3 separate regions of the Homo sapiens genome follow, and all the other regions are linked to region 1. Evidence: promoter capture Hi-C in 16 types of primary human blood cells and fetal thymus (Javierre and others, 2016). All regions are on one chromosome and are shown on one strand. Each heading gives the region's core, a stretch centred on a gene start or on the middle of the fragment in contact. The rest is flanking DNA. Distances are from core to core; before and after follow the strand shown. Region 1 holds the start of MICU2 (mitochondrial calcium uptake 2). Region 2 has its middle 3.3 kb from the start of NUP58. Region 3 holds the start of CPAP (centrosome assembly and centriole elongation protein).

The links. The method cuts DNA at HindIII sites, captures the fragments that hold promoters and counts their contacts. A CHiCAGO score of 5 or more calls a contact.
Region 2: a contact is called between a fragment that was not itself captured here and the fragment with the promoter of MICU2 in region 1, in 2 of 17 cell types (fetal thymus and total B cells). The highest score is 6.6, in fetal thymus.
Region 3: a contact is called between the fragment with the promoter of CPAP here and the fragment with the promoter of MICU2 in region 1, in 4 of 17 cell types (total CD8 T cells, total B cells, naive CD8 T cells and 1 more). The highest score is 7.7, in total CD8 T cells.

Annotation. Positions count from the first base shown.
Region 1 is chr13:21,602,212-21,607,163 of GRCh38, forward strand. MICU2 (mitochondrial calcium uptake 2) reads right to left here and starts at 1,959. Exons shown (of 12, transcript NM_152726.3): 1 at 1,728-1,959. The coding sequence starts at 1,937. RefSeq lists enhancers at 1,053-1,672, 1,673-2,291, 2,073-2,142 and a silencer at 1,693-1,902. The HindIII fragment of the contact is 1,411 bases long and covers 1,289-2,699 here.
Region 2 is chr13:25,295,819-25,300,770 of GRCh38, forward strand. No RefSeq gene overlaps it. Among named protein-coding and RNA genes, the nearest start is that of NUP58, 3.3 kb to the right of the region's middle. The HindIII fragment of the contact is 2,228 bases long and covers 1,527-3,754 here.
Region 3 is chr13:24,920,518-24,925,469 of GRCh38, forward strand. It overlaps CPAP (centrosome assembly and centriole elongation protein), which reads right to left and starts at 2,344. Exons shown (of 17, transcript NM_018451.5): 1 at 2,244-2,344. RefSeq lists enhancers at 1,488-2,389, 2,390-3,291. The HindIII fragment of the contact is 2,154 bases long and covers 1,848-4,001 here.

The DNA.
Region 1 (4,952 bases), core at 709-3,208:
ACCTAAGGGTCTTAAAAACAGGATGAATCGGCCGGGCGCAGTGGCTCACGCCTGTAATTCCAGCACTTAGGGAGGCCAAGGCGGGCGGATCACGAGGTCAGGAGATCGAGACCATCCTGGCTAATACGGTGAAACCCCGTCTCTACTAAAAACACAAAAAATTAGCCGGGCGCGATGGCGGGCGCCTGTAGTCCCAGCTACTCGGGAGGCTGAGGCAGGAGAATGGCGTGAACCCGGGAGGCGGAGCTTGCAGTAAGCCGAGATAGCGCCACTGCAGTCCGGCCTGGGCGACAGAGCGAGACTCCTCTCAAAAAAAACAAAAACAAAAACAAAAAACAAACAAAAAAACCAGGATGAATCTAGGGGAGAGAAACTAATGATGAATACACTGAACTCCTTGGCACAAGATTCACAAAAATGCTATAAAAACACTAGATAATAGATCTTTCCATTATATATGTTTACAATATAATTATAATGTATGTTAATACAAATAAGGAATATCAGTTGCCAATACTTAATTTTAACTCACAAGGCCTTCTTTCCTCTCTTTTTTGTTGTATCTGAATGTTCCTTGAGTTTTTCGCTAGAAAGGCATAATGTAAATCTAAAAAAGAAAATAATAAACTACTACTTTCAATTTTCAAAAAAGCTCATATGTAAAAACTTACTAAGTCTACAAAAATTTTAAAGCACTACTCATTCAAATTTTCAAATGCGTTACAACATCATTTATCCTGAAATAGGGAACTTGAATCTTTTTTTTTTTTTTTTGAGACGGAGTTTCGCTCTTGTAGCTCAGGCTGGAGTGCAATGGCTCGATCTTGGCTCACTGCAACCTCCGCCTCCCGGATTCAAGCGGTTCTCCTACTTCAGCCTCCCGCCACCACACCCAGCTAATTGTTTATATTTTTTAGTAGAGACCGGGGGGGCGGGGCTGGGGTGGGGAGCGGCTTCACCATGTTGGCCAGGCTGGTCTCGAACTCCTGACCTCAGGAGATCCACCCGCCTCGGCCTCCCAAAGCCCTGGGATTAAAGGCGTGTGCCACCGCGCCCGGCGGACTCTTGTCTTTAATAGATGGAGGTTTTAGGAGCAATTTTTGCTTAGAACTTATGGTCCACTAAGATATTAAGGTTTATAATCATGCAATAATGTTCCTTAAAGTTGATAATAAAATCTGGAAATCAACTGGTTAATTTTTGTGGCTGACACATTCGTGACTTAAAAAAGCAATCGACAGAACTTCATCATGCTATACAAAGAAAAGATCGTAAAACTTAGTTGCAAAGCTTAACAAAGGTATATCCCACAGGGGTAACTGGACGCAAACCACCTGCGGATGTGAATGCCACTTCACTGACCAGAGAGGTAGCAAGAGGCGAGGCGCAGTGAGATTCTGAATTAGGAGCCTCGAATTAAGACACGCCCACACTCATCACCACTAAATTAGTGCGGCCAGTTTTGTGGGCCGTGGTGTTCAGCGTCCGCGGGGTTCTCCCAAGGGAGGCAGAATCTCCGGTCACCAGCCTCGAAGGCCCTCGGGGACTCAGGCCGGGGGCCGGTCCAGGAAGGAGCGAGTCCCACCAGTCGCAGGGCGCTCCGATCCGCAGCGGCACCTCCACCCACGGCTCCGGGAGAGCCGCCCAGAGCCAAACCACTCCCCGCCTAAGGGCGTCAGGGGAGGGAGGAGCTTGACTGGGGCTAGCAGAAGGAGTTAGTCCTGTACCTGTGCGGAGACTGTAAAACTGCCATCCCGCGCCGCAACACTGACGCGGCTGTGGTGCCAGGCCGCTCCTGCTCCTGCCAGGGCCGCGCCGGCCACTGCCGCTGCCAAGGGGCCGGGACTCCGCACAGCCTGTCGGCTGACAGCGAGCCCCCGTCGCAGTTTTCCGCCCCAGGCCGCCACCCGCGCGCAGCTACCCGCAGCCGCCGCCATCTTTGCGGAAGCGCAGCTAGGCGGCGCTTCTCTCCCGGCGCCGCCGCCTACCGCTTGGGAACTCTCGCGACATCCGACAGGCTTCCGCCCCGCCTACCGGGCCTGCGCCGTGGGTGCGGTTGCTGAGGCGACGCTCGCAGCCGCAAGAGGTGGCCTTCGGTTCCGGGGCTGCCTTCTAAGGCTGTGGGGATGGGATGACAGGAAGAGTATCAAGACAGTATAATATGACTTCCTAGTCCAAAACAAGATAGTGCCCTCGGTTGTGTGGGCAGGTTTCTCCTTTTCATTTTTTCACCTTGTAAAACTGTGAAACGTTTTTTGAAATAGTCTCTTCTGCATCTGTGTTGTTCATGTCTTCCTATGCTTATAGTCTTGACTGTTCTTTCATTTCTGCTAAAACAACTCTCAGACAAGGCATTCTGTTTATTTCAGTCCCTCACTATTTGCTTATAATGAATTTAAATTCAGTTTCAACAAAAGGTTTGATAGTAGCTCTTATCCTACCTAGAACTAAAAGTCAGAGACAGCAGCACACCAGCCCCATGTCTCTATCATCAGGGACCCAGAGGTTTTCCCCAGTGCAGATTTAGAACGATACCTCCAGTCCTGGCTGTTGCATTGGTGATAAGTGATGTAGCTGAGGCAGACTACTTGGTTTTATTTAACAGCCTCCAATCCTCCATTCTTTGGTCTTCACTTTTCCTGAGTAACTCTTTTTAATAAACTCTTTGTTCAGCCTCTGAAATGTCCCCAGCTATTAGAAGCTTTAGTTGGGCATGCAGTAACGGAGCCAACATCAAAGGGGCCAAGACTCCTAATCACATAATCACTGCTGTCTTGAAGTTTTGCACAAAACAAAACTTCAAGAAACAAAAACAAAAACCTGTCACACGAAATCTAATTTGATCATTCAGTGGAAGTTCCGTGGATCCCTTTGTTATTATCTGCCCTTAATCCTTGCTCCCTTTCTCTTAGCCCGCTTGTCTAAATTAATCTGCAGTCAGAGGTTCCTCACTTTTCCGTCAGCTTCTGGACTTACTTTTCAGTGTGCCTTCCCAGGTAGGAAGTAGAGAGATGAGCCTCACTTCACCGACTTGTGAGCCAGACCTCAAGGTTTGAATCTTAGCTCTACCAGGATGATCACTGTGGTTTGGGGCAAATTATTTAATCTCTCTGAGTCTCCATTTTCTCATTTGTAAATAACTCACGATTTGGTAGATGATCACTGCTATTTGGGGTAAGGTATTTAATCTCTTTGAGTCTCAATTTTTTCATCTGTGAACAACCCTCTTACAGTTTGGGGTGGGGAAGCTAAATGAGATATTTTATATAAAGTGACTAGCCAAATGCCTGGCACATGGTAGGCTCATGACAGATGTGCGTTTACTGTGGTCAAGGTTTGGTTTACTTCTGCCCTGTGAACACAAATGAGCTTGACTGAATGTCCATGATTCCAGATCACTAGCCCATCTTAACCTGAGATTTTCCTGCTTTTTTGTATCTAGCCTGACTTTGTCAACCTCTGGACTGTTTTTCACCTCTGCTAACTCTGGTAGCTTTGGCACATGTCCTGCTTTTCTGGACTATTGACATCTAGCTTGTTTCCTGGTGATAATAGGACTTCCAGGATATTTTGGACACCCTGGATGTCTTACCTTGTAGTTTATTCTTGATTTCCAGAAACCACAGTCTTTACGTGTATACTTCTAACTGCCTCACACAGTTCCTCTAGGTATTTAATGAAACCTGGCATCTATTACTCAGTATTGCCTTAAGCCCAAGATAAGTTTAGATTCCCATTAAAACATGTAGCATATTTAAGAACATTGTCTTTCTCCCACAATTTGACATCCTTGTGGGTGAGATGTCTTCCTTTTCCCTGTTTCTCTAGCACCTAGCACAATGCCCAGCACGTAATAGACATTCAATGAGTGAGTAAATAAGTGAATAAATAAATGGCACAAATGAAACTCAGGGGTTCATATTTCTATGCTTTGGCCATCCAAAATACAGAAGTATATTATTCCTTTGGGGTACTTTATTTTCAAAACAAAAGCTTCTTTTTATTTTGCCAAAAATCTTTGAACCCACTTGGAAAACAGTGTAATTAGTTATTTTTTAAATTTTCATTATGTGCCCAGGCATCTAGAACTCTCACTTATAATTTAATGTATTCAAACTTTTCTTATGCAGAGGAAACAAATTCTTATAATAGAACCAATCTCTAGTCGAATAACCATTCTAAGTATGAAATCTTCCTTGGCAGCTGCTGACATTTGTCTAAGCACATTGACTATATTGGTCTTTTTGGGCTCCAGCTTTGTTCATTTCTTCATCATCAGCTGTAAAGTCCTGGGCTGGGATGTATTTTCAACCATGCAGTTTATAAACCAACCCCCAAATAAGAAGCTGCTTCTAAAGCTGTACATTGTATGCTGTTTTAAATAACTGGACGAAAACAGGATGGAAATACTTATTGTTTCAAAGTATTCTTAATTCACTTACTCCTGCTCTTTTTTTCTGAAGAAGAACGAAAGTGATATGTCAGAAAAACTGCTCTTAAGGAGCTTTATTTTCACTGGAGAGGCTAGGCTTGAATTTCAAAACAATTGTCTCTGACTTTTATACTGTACAGAGAAGCAAGGGTGAGGTGGGCTGGCACAGGCAGAAAAGCATCTAGGGAAGACAGAAGACTTGATCTGGAACTTGCTGGGGTCTGAGGCAGGGTGAGAGCCTGGGGGAGGGTGCATACAGTGTGTGCTGACAGGCTTGGTGCAGAAGGGCTAGCTGGGGACTGGCTTGGAGTGTCCTGAGGGCCAGGCAGGGGCCACACAATGATCTCCAGTCTGTGGAACAGTTGTCAGCCCCCTTGACCCTCTGCACATTTGTCACTGGCGTATTCATGCTTCCCTTTCAGCGTCCCCACCCGCCTTGAGGCTGAGCTCCTCTTCTGAATCTCAGATGCTCCACCAGTGTATTTCTTCTGCTTGCCCGGACTTTATCCTGGCCTTTCTT
Region 2 (4,952 bases), core at 1,391-3,890, 3.7 Mb after region 1:
TATAATCTGGCATCACTGATTTGTGTGCAGCAGATGCCTGAATGCCTCCTCTTTCTCCCTTGGGCAACTCAGTCAATTACTTAACCCTTCATCCAACCTCTGGGGCTTGCAGAATGCCTTAATTCCCTGAAGTAGGTGCAGCTCTCTCTAGTTCATTTCTTACAAGCTGACTCTTGGTTTCTGATATACACAAAGCTTGGCTACTCCTGTTTTTCTGGATTCCCTTGAAACTTGTCTGTGTCTATACAATAACTCTGTGTTCCCACACCTCCCCCATATATGCACACACTTATGCTTGAACTACCTTGAGAGAGTTCCTATTCTTAGCAATAAAAGAGGTCTAATTAGATTATGGGGAAACTGCTCAGAGCAAAGGGAATTGGGCAGGCTTAAGGAACTTTTATCCATGACATGGAAAAGACATGAATATACTCCTGCTTCATGGAGGTGGACATCTGTCTAGTGACCAGAATATGTGTATCCGTCAAGCACAATGACTTGTTTCCATGAAAGGTGAGAGCAATAAGTGCAGATATATTGTTCCTCTTTGGCTCCCATTTTTTTGAGACTACATGTTGACCACTGCCTTTCTGTTGGCGTGTTTCAAGGCAATTACATAATAGGTTGTTGGTGGCATTTTTATTGTTATATTCCAGCCCTATATATATTATTGACTTCTGTCAATCTTGGATATTTCCTAGGTTTCCTCAGTAACGCATGTAAAATTCATCTTTTGGGGTGAACTCCTACTAAAAAGGTATATTACATTTAGTTATGAATAATAAAGATTCAGCTCTAATGGACTAAATAACATACAAATAGACTTTTCTCTCATTTAAAAGAAATCTGAAGGTAGGTAGTATAGGGCTGGTATGGTGCCTCTACAGTATACCATCACGACCTAAGCTCATACTATTTTTTTGTGATACCCTCCTTTGCATATGACTTCCATTCTTAAAGTCACTCATGGACCAAGATGGCTATTGGAGATCCAGCCATTGTGTCTAAGTTCCAGGTAGTAGGAAGAAAGGAGAAGAAAGTCAAAACAGATGTATGCCAGCTATCTGTCCCCAAGAAAATGAGTGATTCTGGAAGTCTCATCTCATGTTTCCTACCCACCTCTACCTATAGAGGAAGCTGGAGACATATAGTTGTTTATCTGGTTAGTTTGCCACTTTGGAGAAAACTGAGGTTTTAAGGAAGAAGGAAGGAAAGAATAAATATTGGTGGCCAGAAGACAGCGTCCATCATTTATCTTATGTTGACATTGCTTAGTTTCTCTTCTCAGCCTTCCTTATCCACTAAAGTTGTCAAGTCATAAAAGCAACTTTTTCAGGTCCCATCTCTGCCAATAGGAAGGGTGTATTTCAAAATAAATGACTATAGTTTGAATTACATACATTTAGCTTTATGGATAACTCCTTACATTTATTTTTCTCATTTATTGGGTGATGAGTGAAAAAATTCATCAGGAAATAGACAATTACTGTTCTGACCTGTGATTGGGAACTTTTGTTTTAACTTTAAGCTTTTCCCCCTTAACTTTGTAGTTTGAAAATTTCAAACCTACAGAAAAGTTGTAAAATTATTACAATGAACACCCATATACCTTGTTTTGACAGTCATCCTATAATTTGCATTATTGATTTATCTCTCTATATACATTTGGTTGTTGCTGTTGTTCAATCACTTGAGAACTTAATGAATTTTTAAAGTGGAAGGACACTACTCAAATATTTAAAACCCTAAAATATTTAAGACCTTTTCTGAGAATAATTTTCAAGATAAAGACTGTGATTGAAGGCAAATGGTTACATGTAATTTCTAAAAGATAACCTCTTTTCTGGATATTTCAGAGGACCAGAACTGGAGATATTACAGACTCCTTTCAATAGACTTCAGATTCCCACTTCTTTTCTGTCTTAGAACCGCTGCTGAGAGAGGTTCTCAAATGGTTATCCTGATCTGAACACCCCCACCAAAGCAAACCTATTTTAGATATGTTAATGCAAACACAAATTAGAAGTTTTAGCCTGGGCAACACGGTGAAAACCCATCTTTACAAATAAACAAATTAGCCGGGCATGGTGGTGGACACCTTTATGTAGTCCGAGCTACTCGGGTGGCTGAGGTGGGAGGATCGCTTGAGCCAGACAGGCAGAGGTTGCAGTGAGCCAAGATGGTGCCACTGCACTCCAGCCTGGGCACAGAGCCAGACCCTGTCTCAAAAAGGAAGAAAAAAAAAAAGTAAATTTTTTACAGTGCTATTTCTGTTTGGATAATTCAGTTTGATTATGACATTAACAATGTCATCATCCTGCTGGCAAATCAGCAAAAGATGCAGTTCTCTAACAGAATGCTTACAATATAAGAAGCAAGGAAAGACAAGATGGCCTACTCTAGAATTTAGAATCTGAAGCACTTGCTTCATCCCTGGAAGCAGCAATTCACATAGAACTGACACATAGGTTCAAGTCCTCTAATGTTAAAAAGCGTAATATTTAGAAGATCCTTTGGGATAGGATTTGTTACTCTACCTAGACTAGGTCAGGAAGGTTAAGCCAGATTCCAGTGCTCCATGGTTCTGCTCAGTTGCAGATAGGATTCAGACTTATGTATGCGTAATGCTCAGTTACTGCTATTTTACTGTTTTCCATTCACTAACCAAACCATTGAGCTTATTGAAAGCTGCTTTCTTTGGAGTTTCATTTCTGTAGAATGTAAGGATGTAATTTCTTTCTTCACTAATAGGACAAGCGGCACAAGGTATATGAGATGAGAAGGGGTCTCCAAGATTTAGTCTTATACTTAGTGCATCTAGTGGTAGATTGCAATACTGCTCATCAGATATTCCAGATTTTGTCTCTGCAGTGCTCCTCCTTGAGTGATTTGGGGATTTATTATGTAGTATAACTTAAAATATTCTGCCAGATACAAGGCAAGAAATGCTACACTAAAATTTTGATAAAGTTGAAAGGATAGTTTGCTTGTTAATTGGAATGGCTTCCCCCAAAACCCAAACTTTAATCTAAGTCAGACTTCCTTTATTTCTTTTATAAACGTTCAGCTTCAAAACAGTTATAGATGTGGCTGGGCGCGGTGGCTTACGCCTGTAATCCCAGTACTTTGGGAGGCCGAGGCAGGCAGATCACAAGGTCAGGAGATTGAGATCATCCTGGCCAACATGGTGAAACTCCAGCTCTACTAAAAATACAAAAATTAGCTGGGCATGGTGGCGCATGCCTGTCATCTCAGCTACTTAGGAGGCTGAGGCAGGAGACTCGCTTGAACCAGGGAGTCGGAGGTTGCAGTGAGCCAGGATCTAGCCAGTGCACTCCAGCCTGGTGTCAGAGTGAGACTCCATCCAAAAAAAAAAAAAGTTACAGATTTACAGAATTATTACATAGTGTGCTCATATTCCTCACACCCAGTTTCCCCTATTAGGAAATTAGTCCCTATGATATTTTTACATGTTCTTTCTTTCCTGTGAATATTACAAGTCTTGTTCATTATTATATATTTAAGTGCCAGCCATTTTGCTATTACTAATTGTAGGTTGGTATTCTTCAATAGTTTTGGAAAGAATACACGAGAAAATCAAAAGACATAGGGAGTGCCTTTCTATCTTCCCATAAAAATCATCAGGATCTTTTTTTTTTTCAGTCAAAAGGAAGTCTCCTAGACTTTATGTGAACAATCCTCTTACTGACCACCCTATAGCCATCACTGAAAATAGCTTTCTCTATATCACCGAAGCTTTAAAACTCACAACAATCTTTTATTTTTGCCTCCTGTTCGATAACTATGAAGTTTTTATTTATATCTTAATCCAAATATATCCCTTTTTTCTTTTTTATCATTCCCATTATGACTTCTATGACGTTTAAAATGTTATGGCCGGGCACAGTGGCTTACGCCTGTAATCCCAGCACTTTGGGAGGCCGAGGTGGGCAGATCGCTTGAGGCCAGGAGTTCAAGACCAGCCTGGCCAACATGGTGAAAACCCATCTCTACTGAAAAATACAGAAATTAACCGGGCGTGGTGGCGTGCGCCTGTGATCCCAGTTACTTGGGAGGCTGAGGCAGGAGAATCGCTTGAACTCAGGAGACGGAGGTTGCAGTGAGCCGAGATGGCACCACTGTATTCCAGCCTGGGCAACAGAGCGAGACTCTGTCTCAAAATAAAGTAAAATATAAATTAAATTTAAAAAACAAAATAAAATGTACGTTTCTTTTTAATTATACAAACACAGAGGTGGTGTATTAGTCTGCTTGGCTGATACAACAAAATACCATAGACTGAGGTGGCTATAACAACAGACATTTACTTCTCTCAATTCTGGAGGCTAAGTCCCAGATAAAGATGGGGCAGTTTGGGTTCCAGGTGAAAGCCCCTTCTTGCTCTGTCCTCACATGGCACACAGAGGAGAACAAGCTCTTCGTTGTTTTTTCTCATAAGGGCACTAATCTCGCCATGGGCGACCCACCAAGGTGACCTCATCTAAATTGAATTACCTCCCAAAGGCTCCATCTCCAAATACCAACATATTGGGGTGGGGTAGGGCTTTAACATATGGATTGGGGGAGGAGGGAAATAGTTCAGTCCACAGCTGGTGGCAATGCCCAAGCTCAACGGAAGATTAAAGTACTGAATTAGGGAGAACTGTGAGATGAGGTTAGAAAGACTAATCATACGGAGGTCATCAAGTGCCAAACTAAAGAGCCACTGGGCTTTTTAGATCATAAATCCGGGGGTTGCTTATGGGATGGATTTTGTTAGAGATCACGAGTAGGAAAACCATTTGGGGGAGTAATGTAACAATCCCTGAGGGAAAAATAAAAACTAACACTATGATGACAACCCTCGAATGCACCACCACCAGGAAGCCTTTCCTGATGCTTCGCCAGAGAGGTTCTCTTTAAACGCGAATTTTTCTTGAGTTATCCTAGAA
Region 3 (4,952 bases), core at 1,094-3,593, 3.3 Mb after region 1:
TGAGAACCACAGCTATTCAGGCATTTAAAAAAACAAAAATTGCTGCCACAGGCAGTAACAAAAATAAATAATGATGTGTGAACATCAGACAAATATGATTCCTTTTTTTTTTTTTTTTTTTGAGATGGAGTCTCACTCTGTTGCCCAGGCTAGAGTGCAGTGGTGTGATCTTGGCTCACTGCAACCTCAGCCTCCCGGGTTCAAGCGATTCACCCACCTCAGCCTCCAGAGTAGCTGGGACTACAAGCATGCACCACCATACCTGGCTTTTTTTTTTTTTTGTATTTTTAGTAGAGACGGGGTTTCACTATGTTAGTCAGGTTGTTCTCAAACTCCTGACCTCAAGTGATCCACCTGGCTTAGCCTCCCAAAATGCTGGGATTACAGGCATGAGCCACCGCACCTGGCCCATGTTTCCATGTATATGAAGCTGAAGAACAGGCAAAATAAACCCATAGTTATAAATGGCATATTGGTCGTTATCCAGGAAAATGGGAGTTGTCCTGTCTGTGTGAAAGTTGATCATACAAATTGAGTCATTCTTATAGCCAACTAAACAATCAAGAAGTCAAGAGGGAAAGGCACTCAGGACACACAACTTTGCTCCAAGAATGGAATTCTCTATAAGTCAGTATGCTGAAACTGCCGGTTGTAACCCGAGACCAATTTGATCTATAGATGCTGAGGTAACTTGCTGCAATTGTAGGACTAATTTTGCCCTCCACCATGGCCCACTCGGTAGGACCTGCTGCCTCCCCAGAACCTTAGGAGAACCAATGAACTTTCTCGAAGAGCGACAGATATAACAATTCTCTTTTTTATAAAACCTCCAGCTTTCTCTTTGTTCTTTGGACATACTGAAGACCACCTGGTCTGTACGCCTGGAACCGCCATTCTTTCTTCCCAAATAAAACGTTAAACTTAAGAGATTCATCTCCAAATTTTTGACTTCAACAACTGGGAAGGTTAATACAGGGGGTGGATACACTTAGGCTGTACACTTAAGATTAGCGCACTTTACTGGATATCTGTTATTCCTGAATAATTTGTAAAAACTTTTTCTAAGCAAATTGTTTTTCAGTAGGAAACCAATCTAAAAAAGTAATGACTTTTTTTTTTTCAAAATCAACCACGTAACTTTGCTTAATTTCAATGACCTTAGCAGAAAATCTTTCGAAATCCAAATTCAGAAGGGAGACAAACTACAAGGTCATTTCATAATATGGAAAACTAGAAAAATTCCCTACTAGACTGACAAGTGCAAGCAGTCTTGGGATGCAGCAGCCAGACTTTTGCATCTCCTCCTCCAACTCCCCACCAAACACACCTTCTATACCTTCAATTTCATGACCGCGATTCTAAAAATATATTTAATGTCAGCATGAAGTATAAAAAAAGCGTCACCAGAACCTGCTACTTATTATTGATACTGAGGTCTTGGTAAAGGGAGCATTGATAATATATATGCCGAGATAGGATTAGTATGTGGACTCAGACTTTACAGATATCAAAATCTGAAGGACACGGGTGCACGTGTATGTCAAACTCATCAAATGGAATGCATTTAAACATGTGCCATTTTTATTGTATAGCAATTATACCTCAATAAAACTTTTAAAAAATGTAACAAACTGACAGCCTTGAAATCTCCAGAAAGTGCTATGTAAACATTCTTTAAAGCAGTATTGAAAAAAAGATAAATTCTCTGCACGGTGAGGGAGGAGAGTGGATACAAACAGCAAATTCAAAGCCACTCTTAGACCGTGAGAAGTAACTAGTTGGTCTGGGAAGTGATTTAGCAGTCCCCTAAAATACAACACGTTCTTGAAAGCCATGAATCCACACGAAGCTTCAAGAGAGAAGCCCTTGACAAAGCTGGGGCAAGACCGGCCCTTAGGACAGCCAGCAACGCTACTTCACCACCCTGCTCCAGCGGACTGCGGCTGCCGCGCTGCCCACAGGAACTCAAGTTCCGCCACAGCCAGGTCAGAGAGACAGACACCCCAGAGAGGCCGGCTTCCCCAGCTCTGCGAAGAACAAAGCAGCGCGAATGAACGAAGCCACTGAACTGCCGTGGGCCTCAGCGCGCCCGTGGGCCTGAGCGCGTCCCGGCGCCCCGCTCCCTCCTCGCCCCGCCGAGCCAACCCCGAGGTCCGAGCAGAGTCCTGCCCGCCCACCGCCGTCCATCTCCGGCGCAGGGCGGCGGACAAAGAGCTCCTCCGCTCTTTTCGCCCACAAATTACCGCTCCGTGAAGCCTGGGCAGCTCAGCAGCACGAACCGACACCTCAATCTCCGCAGCATTTACAAATGGGCCGCCACAATCGCCGCCTCTGTCGGAGCCCCGCCCCCGTCCCGAGGTCCTGTGGGAAGTGAGGATCTCACCCGCGCGTCTGCGCTAAAGCGCAGGCACCGCTGAGCCCAGTGAAACTACAACTCCCAGTGACGCCACAGCGACGGGCGTTGCCCGGCGGGGGATGGACTGCGCGCCGCCTTCCGACCAGCAGCGGGCCAGTGGTCGACGTAGGCGGGCGGCGTGGCGGGGCGGAAAACCGTTTCCGGGAGAGACCTTCCGTGGTGGACGTCGCCCCAGGCTCCCACACTTAGAAAACTAAAGGGAACGCCTAACGGAGCGATGGATCTCCGTGTTCCCAGCAAAGCAGGGAGCACGGAGAGTCAAAGCTAACATAGAGCCCAACCGACGCTTAAAGGAGGTGTTTTGGGTTTTGTTTTTTTTTTTTCTATTTGCGTACGGTCTATTTTGTCGTTTTTTTGGTTTGGTTTGGTTTTTTTCTTTGTTTTCCGCTTTGGCTGAGGTGACTTAGTAAAGGAGAAAAAGGGCAGTCCGCTACACCATTTCGTAAGACGAAAATAACCCTATGAGAATTCACTCCAAAAATAGGCATCTTTCATCTCTCCTCAAATGGCTAATCGGTGGTTTGGCAGAGTGTGTCCATTAGATTCTGAAACTAGTTTGAATACTGACAGTGCAGAATTCAAGAAATTTTTTTGTTTTGTTTCGTTTTAACTGCCACGGCCCTTTAATCTAGGAAGTTACAGCACCGTGAGTTACCACAGTACTACATACCTGGCTTCCATGTCTGATTAAACAGCAGGCCAAGTAAAATGTTTAAAGAAATCAAATGAAGTGCCATTTATAACCGTTATAACTGAAACAAACGACTGCTAAAGACAAAACTATTTCACAGAAATTTGGTCCTCCAAAATTTGTTTTGCTTTCTACTTCAAAAAGAGTCTACTTCTCTAAATCAAGATTTCGGTTTTGCTTCTTTTTTCAATTTTTCTTTTCTTTTTTTAATTTTTATTTTTTGAGATGGAGTCTCGCTCTGTTGCCCAGGCTGGAGTACAATGGCGCGATCTCCGCTCACTGCAAGCTCTGCCTGCCGGGTTCACGCCATTCTCCTGCCTCAGCCTCCCGAGTAGCTGGGATTACAGGCGCCCGCCACCACGCCTGGCTAATTTTTTTATTTTTATTTTTAGTAGAGAAGGGGTTTCACCGTGTTAGCCAGGATGGTCTTGATCTTCTGACCTCGTGATCCGCCCGCCTCGGCCTCCCAAAGTGCTGGAATTACAGGCGTGAGCCACCGCGCCCGGCCCAATTTTTCTTTTTAATTTTCACTGTGGGTGAGGAAGCTAAAGCCCGAGACTTCCGAGATCACACAGCTACTTAAGATGCCAGACAAGGACCCAAACAATCTTCCTTTTCATTTATGATAGCCCTTTGGCTTGAAAGCATGCCCAAAAGTCTCATCATTCTTCCTAAAATGTGTATCTTTAAGGATAGTCGCAATATCCTCTATTTTTGTGCCTATATTTTATTCGTATGTTTTTATTTTAATATAGTATGTAGTGCCACATTGTTTGTTGATTGAATAAATAAATGAATCTTTTACCACACTCAAGTCTTAACTGGCTGTTAAATTAAGGTTATAATGTGTAAGTTTTCACCTGTAGCCCATGTAATTCTCAAAACTGCCCACTAAGCTTCAAGGGTTCAAATCCATTACAAGGTGGAAAGGCTAGTGGGGAGGAACTTCCATCTTCTACTCTGCCAGACAATAAAATGTTCTACCTTATCAGTGGTTCCTATCCTTGTTGCATCTTCAGATGGTGCTGTAGAGAAAAATTAGACTAACGGTTGTGGCACAGGGGTTTTAATGCCAGATTACCCGTTCTGATACAATTCTTTATGCCATCATAGGAGTCAAGAGGGCACTCCTATGTCATGGTTAAGAGTCCAGGATTTATCAGGCAGACCTGGGATCAAATCCTAGCTTGATAACTTACAAACAGCTTTGTAGTCTTCAGCACTCAACTTTTCTGAAACCAGTCTTCTCATCTGCAAAACAGGGGTGGATAATAATGAGACCTTCATAGGACTGTCAAGAAGATTACATTAAAAGAAAGACTATGTATGAAAAAGTAGCAAAAAACCTCCACATAGTAAAAAGTCAATGAACAGGAGGTGTTTTCATCTTTATAAAGAATTTAACTGTTGGTGAACTCTTGTCTACCAAAGCCTAGCTCTGTGGGTCTTGTCAAATGCTGTGCCAGACACAGAATAATACTTATTGTATTCCCAAATTATTTGGAAATAATTCTTTTTCATTATTTATTTTTTTGGAGACAGGGGTCTCACTCTGTTGCCCAGGCTGGTCTCTAACTCGTAGGCTCAAGCAGTCCTCTCACCTTGGCCTCTGAAAGTGCTGGAATTACAGGCATGAGCCACTGTGCTTGGCTGGTAATAATTCTTTTAATCAAAGTTGATCTGAGTGACAAAGAGTTGACAGCTTTTCATTGCTGGTCTGATGGTAGCAAGTGTCCACTCTATCCAGAGAGGACATGTCAGGTGCAGTGGCTCACACCTGTAATCCCAGCACTTTGGGAGACTGAAGCGGATAATTTGAGCCTAGACGTTTGAACGTTAGCCAGG